3 separate regions of the Homo sapiens genome follow, and all the other regions are linked to region 3. The links are contacts of gene promoters, found by promoter capture Hi-C in blood cells and fetal thymus (Javierre and others, 2016). All regions are on one chromosome and are shown on one strand. The core of a region is centred on a gene start or on the middle of the fragment in contact, and the rest is flanking DNA. Distances in the headings are between cores, read along the strand shown.

Region 1 (2,700 bases), core at 11-2,510, 200 kb after region 3:
ATGGCAATTGACATAGGTGAGCTGCAAATCCTTAAAGTAGAGCTAAGTAAACTAGCATTCCTACGCTGTAAGTTCTGTCCAAATTTTCATATCTTAGTCAAAGCACTTCAGAAAAATGAGCATGAATTGTGAACTTGGGGCAAATATGGCAAAAAAGAAACATCAAGTGCACAGTGTGAGAAAGTACTACAGTTCTGTGTCATTTAGAGTTCTTTGACACAGCAACAGACAGACACCCAGCCCAGTGCCCCTAAGCCTTCAGTTGGCGTCAGAGGCTGCTTTACGGATAATGGCACTCCTCAGAGCACCTTTGACATCCTTGTTCCTAAGGCTGTAAAGCAAAGGGTTGAGTAAGGGGGTGACAAAGGTGTAGACCAACGCGATTTGGCTGTCCTCATCCTCTGAGGTGCTGGACCGAGGACGCAGGTACACGAGGCTGCAGCAGCCATACTGCAGCAGGACCACGGTGAGGTGGAAGGAGCAGGTGGAGAAGGCCCGGCGGCGGCCCTCGGCAGAACGGATGCTCAGGATGGCACAGGTGATGAACACGTAGGAGACGCAGATGAGCAGGAAGGGGATGGTCAGCACGAGGATGCTCACGACATAGAGGACAGCCTGGTGCACGCGGATGTCAGCGCAGGCCAGGCGCAGGACGGGAGGCACATCGCAGAGGAAGTGGTTGATTTCCTGGTGGTGGCCGCAAAAGGGCAGGGTGAAGATTAAGGCGGTGAGCTGCAGGGAGGGGAAGAGGGCCAGGCCCAGGGCCCCACCCAGCATCTGCGTGCACAGCTCGCGGGTCATGATGAGGGTGTAGTGCAGCGGGTGGCAGATAGCCACATAGCGGTCATAGGCCATGATCGCCAAGAGGAAACAGTCCGTGCTGCCGAGGGTGACAAAGAAGAACATTTGGGCCCCACATCCAGCCAACGAAATGGGCTTCTGGGCCCCCAAAATGTTGGAAAGCATCAAGGGTACTACCACGGTGGTGTAGCAGAGTTCCAGGAAAGACAGGTTGGACAGGAAGAAATACATCGGGGTGCGGAGGGTGCTGTGTGTGCACACCACCCAGATGATGGCTGTGTTGCCACAGAGGATCATCAAGTAGAGGAGGAGGAAGAGAAGGAAGAGAAGAACCTGGAATTCAGTGGCTGTGGTGAACGCACGGAACACAAACTCAGTGGGCTCAGACTGGTTGAAGACAAGTTTCCCCACAGGCATGTCTTATGCAAAAGAATAGGACGCGCTGAGCTCTTCTTGGCTGAGTTGCTTTATTTCTTTTTTTTCTTTTTGAGACGGAGTCTCGCTCTGTCGCCCAGGCTGGAGTGCAGTGGCGGGATCTCGGCTCACTGCAAGCTCCGCCTCCCGGGTTCACGCCATTCTCCTGCCTCAGCCTCCCAAGTAGCTGGGACTACAGGCGCCTGCCACTACGCCCGGCTAATTTTTTTGTATTTTTTTAAGTAGAGACCGGGTTTCACCGTTTTAGCCGGGATGGTCTCGATCTCCTGACCTCGTGATCCGCCCGCCTCGGCCTCCCAAAGTGCTGGGATTACAGGCGTGAGCCACCGCGCCCGGCCGCTTTATTTCTTTAGTAAAAGCAGGAGTGTACAATTTTATTTGGAATTAACTATTTAGTAGCTAGTTTCCAATCACGGTGCATGAGAATGAATTCACGATATAGGGTTTGGTATACTTTTCCTTGGAAATCCTCATGAATGGGATAGACAGTCATCTGCAGAAATTCCTGGGGGCAAGACATGTAGACACATGTAGATGTTCCTTGTGAAATATCTCCCCCCACCCCGATATTTTCAATCCAATTGATAAGACTTAATTATTTTGCTTGTATTTAATTACAGTGAAGAGTTGTATGGTTGCACATATTTTAAAATTAGATAAATGAATTTGTCTTTTACTTTTTTCAGTAAGCACTCTCATTGAAATATAACATACATGTGGAGGAATTCACAAATCCTAAGTGTGAAGCTTGATTTGTTTATTTATTTTAACATCGTAAATACGCCAGTATAACCACTACAAAGATTAAGAAATAGAACGATTCCAGTGACCTACAAACATCCTTCATGTTCTCAGTCTTTATGCTTCACAAAAGTAACCACTTTTTGACTTTTATCATTACAGATTGATGTAACTATGTTTCAACTTATATATGAAATGCTAAAGCATGTACTTTATTGTAACTGGCTTCAACATTATGTCTGCAAAGGTTATTCTTGTTGTTCTGAATCAATCCTTTGTTCTTTCCATTGCTTTATGGCTATAAGTTATTCACTTTACATTCAGTTATTTTGACTCCACATACAAGTAGGAAAACACCCATTGTTACAATCTTTTCTGATATGTACTCTTCATATATTTCCTCTCTTTTGAACATTTTATCTAAATTTCCAACAGGAAGCTAAACTTTTGGACTCAAATAGTTTCAAATGAAAGGGAAGTGAACAGAGTCAGGTTAAAATTAAAGTGGAGCTTCCTGAGATAAGAAAAGACAATGAGGAAACTAAAAATGCAATAGCACAATTGAATTATGCATTAACATAATCAAGAGAATAAGAAAGACCTTTGCAAGCATCTGGGAAGTTAAAAATACCTGTGAATTAAGCACTTTCAGGTTAGACTACAACTTTATTTTTAATACAAAAATTTAAGAGACAATACAAAATATCTACAGAATTTTAAGAA
Region 2 (2,700 bases), core at 147-2,646, 240 kb after region 3:
GATAGAAATCTCAGTTTCATACAGATTTGGTGGGCTGGAACCAAATACTTGCCTGATAGGCTGTCCCCTCGTCTTTCCTAGCTGTTCTGGGAAAGGCAGTTCCTGGTAAGAACTCTCCCTACGGCCCCTTTCATCTCACTGTTCCTCAGGGCATAGATAAGTGGGTTGAGCAGTGGGGTTCCCAATGTGTACACCAGTGAGATGAACCGATCTTGCTTGGGGTTGTAGCTGGAGCTGGGGCACAGGTACATGAAGGCACAGCAGCCATACTGCAGCAGCACCACAGTGAGGTGGGAAGAGCAGGTGGAGAAGGCCCGGTGGCGGCCAGCAGCCGAGTGGATCTTGAGCAGAGCAGCCACTATGAAGGTGTAGGAGGTGGTGATGAGGAAGAAAGGCACAGCAATGGCTAGTATGGCTGCCACCAGCACTGACTGCTCATGAATGTGACTCTGAGCACAAACAACATGCATGACTGGTGGCACATCACAAAAGAAGTGCTCAATGCCCTGAGCCTGGCAGAATGGCAGAGAGAAGATGAAGGCCACCAGTTGTAAGGACAGGAACAGACCACTGATGACTGATGCCACAACCAAGTGGACACAAAGAGTCAATGTCATGAGGAGAGGGTACTGCAACGGGTGGCAAATGGCCACATAGCGGTCATAGGCCATGGCAGCCAAGAGGAAGCAATCAGCACTGCCCAGTGCAATGAAGAAAGCCATCTGGGTGGCACAGCCCAGGAGAGTGATGGTCTTCTCTGACTGTAGGGTGTTGGCCAGGATATGGGGCACCACCACTGCAGTGTAGCATATTTCAATCCCAGAAAGGCTGCCCAGGAAATAGTACATGGATGTGCATAGACAGGTTTCTGTGTGAATGGACACCACAATGAGAATGTTCCCAGTGATGATCAAACCATAAACCAGGCTGACCCCAAGGAAGGACAGAATATGCAGTTCTGGGCAGGAGGGATAGGCCAGGAACACAAATTCCATCAACACTGAGTGATTTTCCCAGGTAATTGAGCTAACAGTATTTCTCTGTGGAGAGCTACAAGTACAGAAGGAAGAATCAGACTGAAGATAAATTAAGTTACACTCTGAGCCATGAATCTAATGTAATCAGCACTGGAGTTAGAAACTGGAAGGATCAAGACTAGTTCTTTTTCTTTTCTCCACTTTTACCAAGTTTCTCCACATTAATATCTACACCTCAATTTCTACCTGCCAAGAGTTGGGCCAAACTATGTAAGATACTATTGAAGAAAAATGGCAGAGGAAGTGGGTGGGATTCAGGAGCTATTTTCAGAAAGAGTGGAATGAAAATTCAATTCTTTCAGCAAATTCACAAGAAAGTGTCAAGGAATTCTTGGGGCTAGAAATCATTAAGGTAAGGGAGATAAGCCATTTATTCATTCACTTATTCATTCACATATTTATTAGGTTGGTGCAAAAGTAGTTGCGGTTTTGCCATTTTGATGGCAAAAACTGCAATTACTTTTGCACCAACCTAATATTTACACTCAATATCTCCTGGGGTATTGAATAAGTGATATGTCAATGTAACTCTCAAAACTAGTGATGGGAAGTGAAGAAAGAAAAAAAATTACCCATGAAGCAAAGGGCTAACAGAGGCCTGAGTATGACAGTGTCAGGGATACGCCTCAGAAAGCAAAGCCCTGTCTACTATTGGTTTTTCTATCCTTATCTGACCAGAAGTATAAGGCTTGAAGGAAACAAGGTGTTTTATCATATGTTTCCTCCTGGCGTGGGTGGAGGTATGAGAAAATATGTGATCCCAAGATGTTGGAAATCTAAGAAGCCTTCCTGTGAATTTGGGCATGATTATGAAAGTCTAAGCCCATCTATTTTTCATATTTCTCAGAAGCTAATGTGAAATCTGGGAGAAGCCATATCTTTTCCACAAAAACCTTTTAATAAACAGACGTAATTTGCAAAGGGCATCCATTCCACTTCTTTTCCCAGACCAACTCATATTAAATAAGGTGGAAAAGACGTAATGTGTGGCCTTGTTTCAACGTGCCAAATTTTAATATTTCCTGTCATTGAATATGAGATTTGAAGAGAAATCTCTACCCAGAGGCACCACTTCCAGTAAAAATTATTCACACAAACCCACCTCAGTGTCACAAGCATGGGGAAAAATATGAGTAGGCAGCTACAAATATTAAGAGCACCTAGGGCAGAAATGGCTCTCTGCTGTTTTTCCAACAGCTAACAAGTGGTATCTATTTCAGTTGGTCTCTTTTCCTGAGCTGAACTTCAATAATGCTTTGAGTGGTTTCTAATGCCACTTAGCATATTGCACATTATACTATATCATGTGGAGGAGGGGCAGTGTATCAATGTGAAATCAGCAGTGAAGGGAAGTGATGTGGTTTGAATAATTCCAGCTCCTGGCTTCATGATGTTAGGTAATATATAATTTCTCTAAGCCTCAATTTCTGTATTTGAAAAATGGGAATAATAATTATACTTAGACAAAAGAATTGCTGTAAGTTTAAATGCAATAGTAATGTAAGATATCACAATGAACTGTCCATAGTAATGGCAACCTAATAAAAGATAATCATCATTATTATTTATAAATTCAAGGGCAGCCATTCTGCTTTATTTACATTTTGATCATCCCATATAAGCACGCCTAATGTTGTGCAAATTTTAGACACTCAATAATTAT
Region 3 (2,757 bases), core at 153-2,652:
GATATTATATTTTCTCATTTAATTCTAAAATGAGATAGGAAGTAATCTCTTTGGAACTCTTGTATTATCTGTTTTTTAAAAAATGGGATTATTTAGTGATTCACTCATGGTCACATATTTCAAGTTGATATTGGAGCTTAAATTCAAACCCAGTGTGGATTCAAACCCAATTATGTTGATTCTATCTCTTAATAGTCATATTCAGTCTCCTACTGGCATTTCTGCAGTTAAAGTCACCATCACTCCATGCTATACTTGCAACAACCTCCTAACCCAGCCTTCCTGCCTCCTCCTTTTTTTTTTTTTTTTGACATTAAGTCTTGCTCTGTTGCCCAGGCTAGAGTGCAGTGGCATAATCTCAGCTCACTGCAACCTCTGCCTCCTGGATTCAAGTGATTCTCCTGCCTCAGCCTCTTGAGTAGCTGGGATTACAGGTGCCCACCACCACGCTGGGCTAACTTTTGTACTTTTAATAGAGACAGGGTTTCACAATGTTGGCCAGGCTGATCTTGAACACCCAACCTCAGGTGAGCTGCCTGCCTTAGACTCCCAAAGTGCTGGGATTACACATATGAGCCACCGGGCCCGGCCTCTGGCTCTTATCTTGTTCCCCTCCAAACCTGCCCCTTCTAAGGGGTAAAAAGAATAGCATTGCTTCTCTGCTTATAATTCTTAAAGTCTCCCTGTGACCTTTAGACTGAAGCTCAGCTTTTTCCTTTCCCTTAATTTGGTTGCTAGCCCTTCATGGTGTCCCAGCCTACTCCTCAGGCTCAGAAACAGTCATTTTCTCTCTGTATCTTATTCCAGGAGATGTCAACATGTAGATTTCCCCCTTGACATTTATTGACTCAAACATGATGCTAAGTGCTTTACAGGAATTATCTAACTTACATTTTCACAACAAATCTGTTAGGTTCTCTTTTATTTGAATCTAGGTATGCTTGCTTGGGAAATCAAGCTCTTGAACTCCATGGTAAACTGTCTCTACTTGAAGTTTCCCCAATGCACAATCTCCTCTCTGATGTCTGGAATTTTATACTTGTGATGTCTTCTCTCTATCTCTACCTTTTGTCTCACTAACTTATACTTCCTTTTCAGGTTCAGCTATAGACAGTCTTCCCTCCAGGAAGATTTCTCAAGACTGGTTGAGCTTCCCTGATATTTCTGCTCATAGTATCCTGCCTTATTCTTAGCCAGTGCATTTCATTTTGTACTAATATTATTTGTTTTCTCATGTCCCTCATGAACTGTGAATTCTTTGAGGGTAAGAACAGTGTGTTGACATCATGTTTCTCTTCTGAAGTGAAAGGCATTTTAGTACAACATCCTCCAACCTCACAGGTTCTCTTTGAGCTCTCATTGTCTATGAGGCTATGAGTTTGCTGAGCTCTCACTGCCACATATGCAACCATATACCAAAAACTGGACCCAGGTAACTGAATTTGTCATGATGGGCTTTGCTGGCATCCATGAAGCACACCTCCTCTTCTTCATACTCTTCCTCACCATGTACCTGTTCACCTTGGTGGAGAATTTGGCCATCATTTTAGTGGTGGGTTTGGACCACCGACTACGGAGACCCATGTATTTCTTCCTGACACACTTGTCCTGCCTTGAAATCTGGTACACTTCTGTTACAGTGCCCAAGATGCTGGCTGGTTTTATTGGGGTGGATGGTGGCAAGAATATCTCTTATGCTGATTGCCTATCCCAGCTCTTCATCTTCACCTTTCTTGGGGCAACTGAGTGTTTCCTACTGGCTGCCATGGCCTATGATCGTTATGTGGCCATTTGTATGCCTCTCCACTATGGGGCTTTTGTGTCCTGGGGCACCTGCATCCGTCTGGCAGCTGCCTGTTGGCTGGTAGGTTTCCTCACACCCATCTTGCCAATCTACCTCTTGTCTCAGCTAACATTTTATGGCCCAAATGTCATTGACCATTTCTCCTGTGATGCCTCACCCTTGCTAGCCTTGTCGTGCTCAGATGTCACTTGGAAGGAGACTGTGGATTTCCTGGTGTCTCTGGCTGTGCTACTGGCCTCCTCTATGGTCATTGCTGTGTCCTATGGCAACATCGTCTGGACACTGCTGCACATCCGCTCAGCTGCTGAGCGCTGGAAGGCCTTCTCTACCTGTGCAGCTCACCTGACTGTGGTGAGCCTCTTCTATGGCACTCTTTTCTTTATGTATGTCCAGACCAAGGTGACCTCCTCCATCAACTTCAACAAGGTGGTATCTGTCTTCTACTCTGTTGTCACGCCCATGCTCAATCCTCTCATCTACAGTCTTAGGAACAAGGAAGTGAAGGGAGCTCTGGGTCGAGTCTTTTCTCTCAACTTTTGGAAGGGACAGTGAGGAGGCAGGTGGGAACCCAGTTTCCTTGCCTTGGATATTTAAAAACAGGTTAGTCAATAACATTTAAGCTGAGACCAAATCAAGAATGCAGTTCCATTTATAACAGCCACAAAAAATACAATACCTAGGAATACAACTAACCAAGGAAGTGAAAGATATTTATAAGGGGAACCACAAAACACTGCTAAAAGAAATCAGAGATGACACAAACAAATGAAAAAACATCCCATGCTCACAGATTGGAAGAATCAATATCATTAAAATGGTCACACTGCCCAAAGCAATCCGCAGATTCAATGCTATTCCTATCAAACTATCAATGTCATTTTTCACAGAATTAGAAAAAACAATTCTAAAATTCATATGAAAGCAAAAAAGGAGCCCAAATTGCCAAAGCAATC

The links. The method cuts DNA at HindIII sites, captures the fragments that hold promoters and counts their contacts. A CHiCAGO score of 5 or more calls a contact.
Region 1: the fragment with the promoter of OR10Q1 here is called in contact with the fragment with the promoter of OR6Q1 in region 3 in 5 of 17 cell types (neutrophils, total CD8 T cells, non-activated CD4 T cells and 2 more); the score reaches 6.2 in neutrophils.
Region 2: the fragment with the promoter of OR10W1 here is called in contact with the fragment with the promoter of OR6Q1 in region 3 in 7 of 17 cell types (neutrophils, naive B cells, non-activated CD4 T cells and 4 more); the score reaches 7.4 in neutrophils.

What each region holds. Positions count from the first base shown.
Region 1 is chr11:58,227,658-58,230,357 of GRCh38, forward strand. It overlaps OR10Q1 (olfactory receptor family 10 subfamily Q member 1), which reads right to left and starts at 1,261. Exons shown (of 1, transcript NM_001004471.2): 1 at 225-1,261. The coding sequence starts at 1,218. The coding sequence ends at 259. The HindIII fragment of the contact is 6,807 bases long and covers 1-1,981 here.
Region 2 is chr11:58,266,864-58,269,563 of GRCh38, forward strand. OR10W1 (olfactory receptor family 10 subfamily W member 1) reads right to left here and starts at 1,397. Exons shown (of 1, transcript NM_207374.3): 1 at 1-1,397. The coding sequence starts at 995. The coding sequence ends at 78. The HindIII fragment of the contact is 7,272 bases long and covers 1-2,700 here.
Region 3 is chr11:58,029,551-58,032,307 of GRCh38, forward strand. It overlaps OR6Q1 (olfactory receptor family 6 subfamily Q member 1), which reads left to right and starts at 1,403. Exons shown (of 1, transcript NM_001005186.2): 1 at 1,403-2,356. The coding sequence starts at 1,403. The coding sequence ends at 2,356. All of the region lies in intron 1 of OR9Q1 (olfactory receptor family 9 subfamily Q member 1), which reads left to right. The HindIII fragment of the contact is 5,269 bases long and covers 1-2,757 here.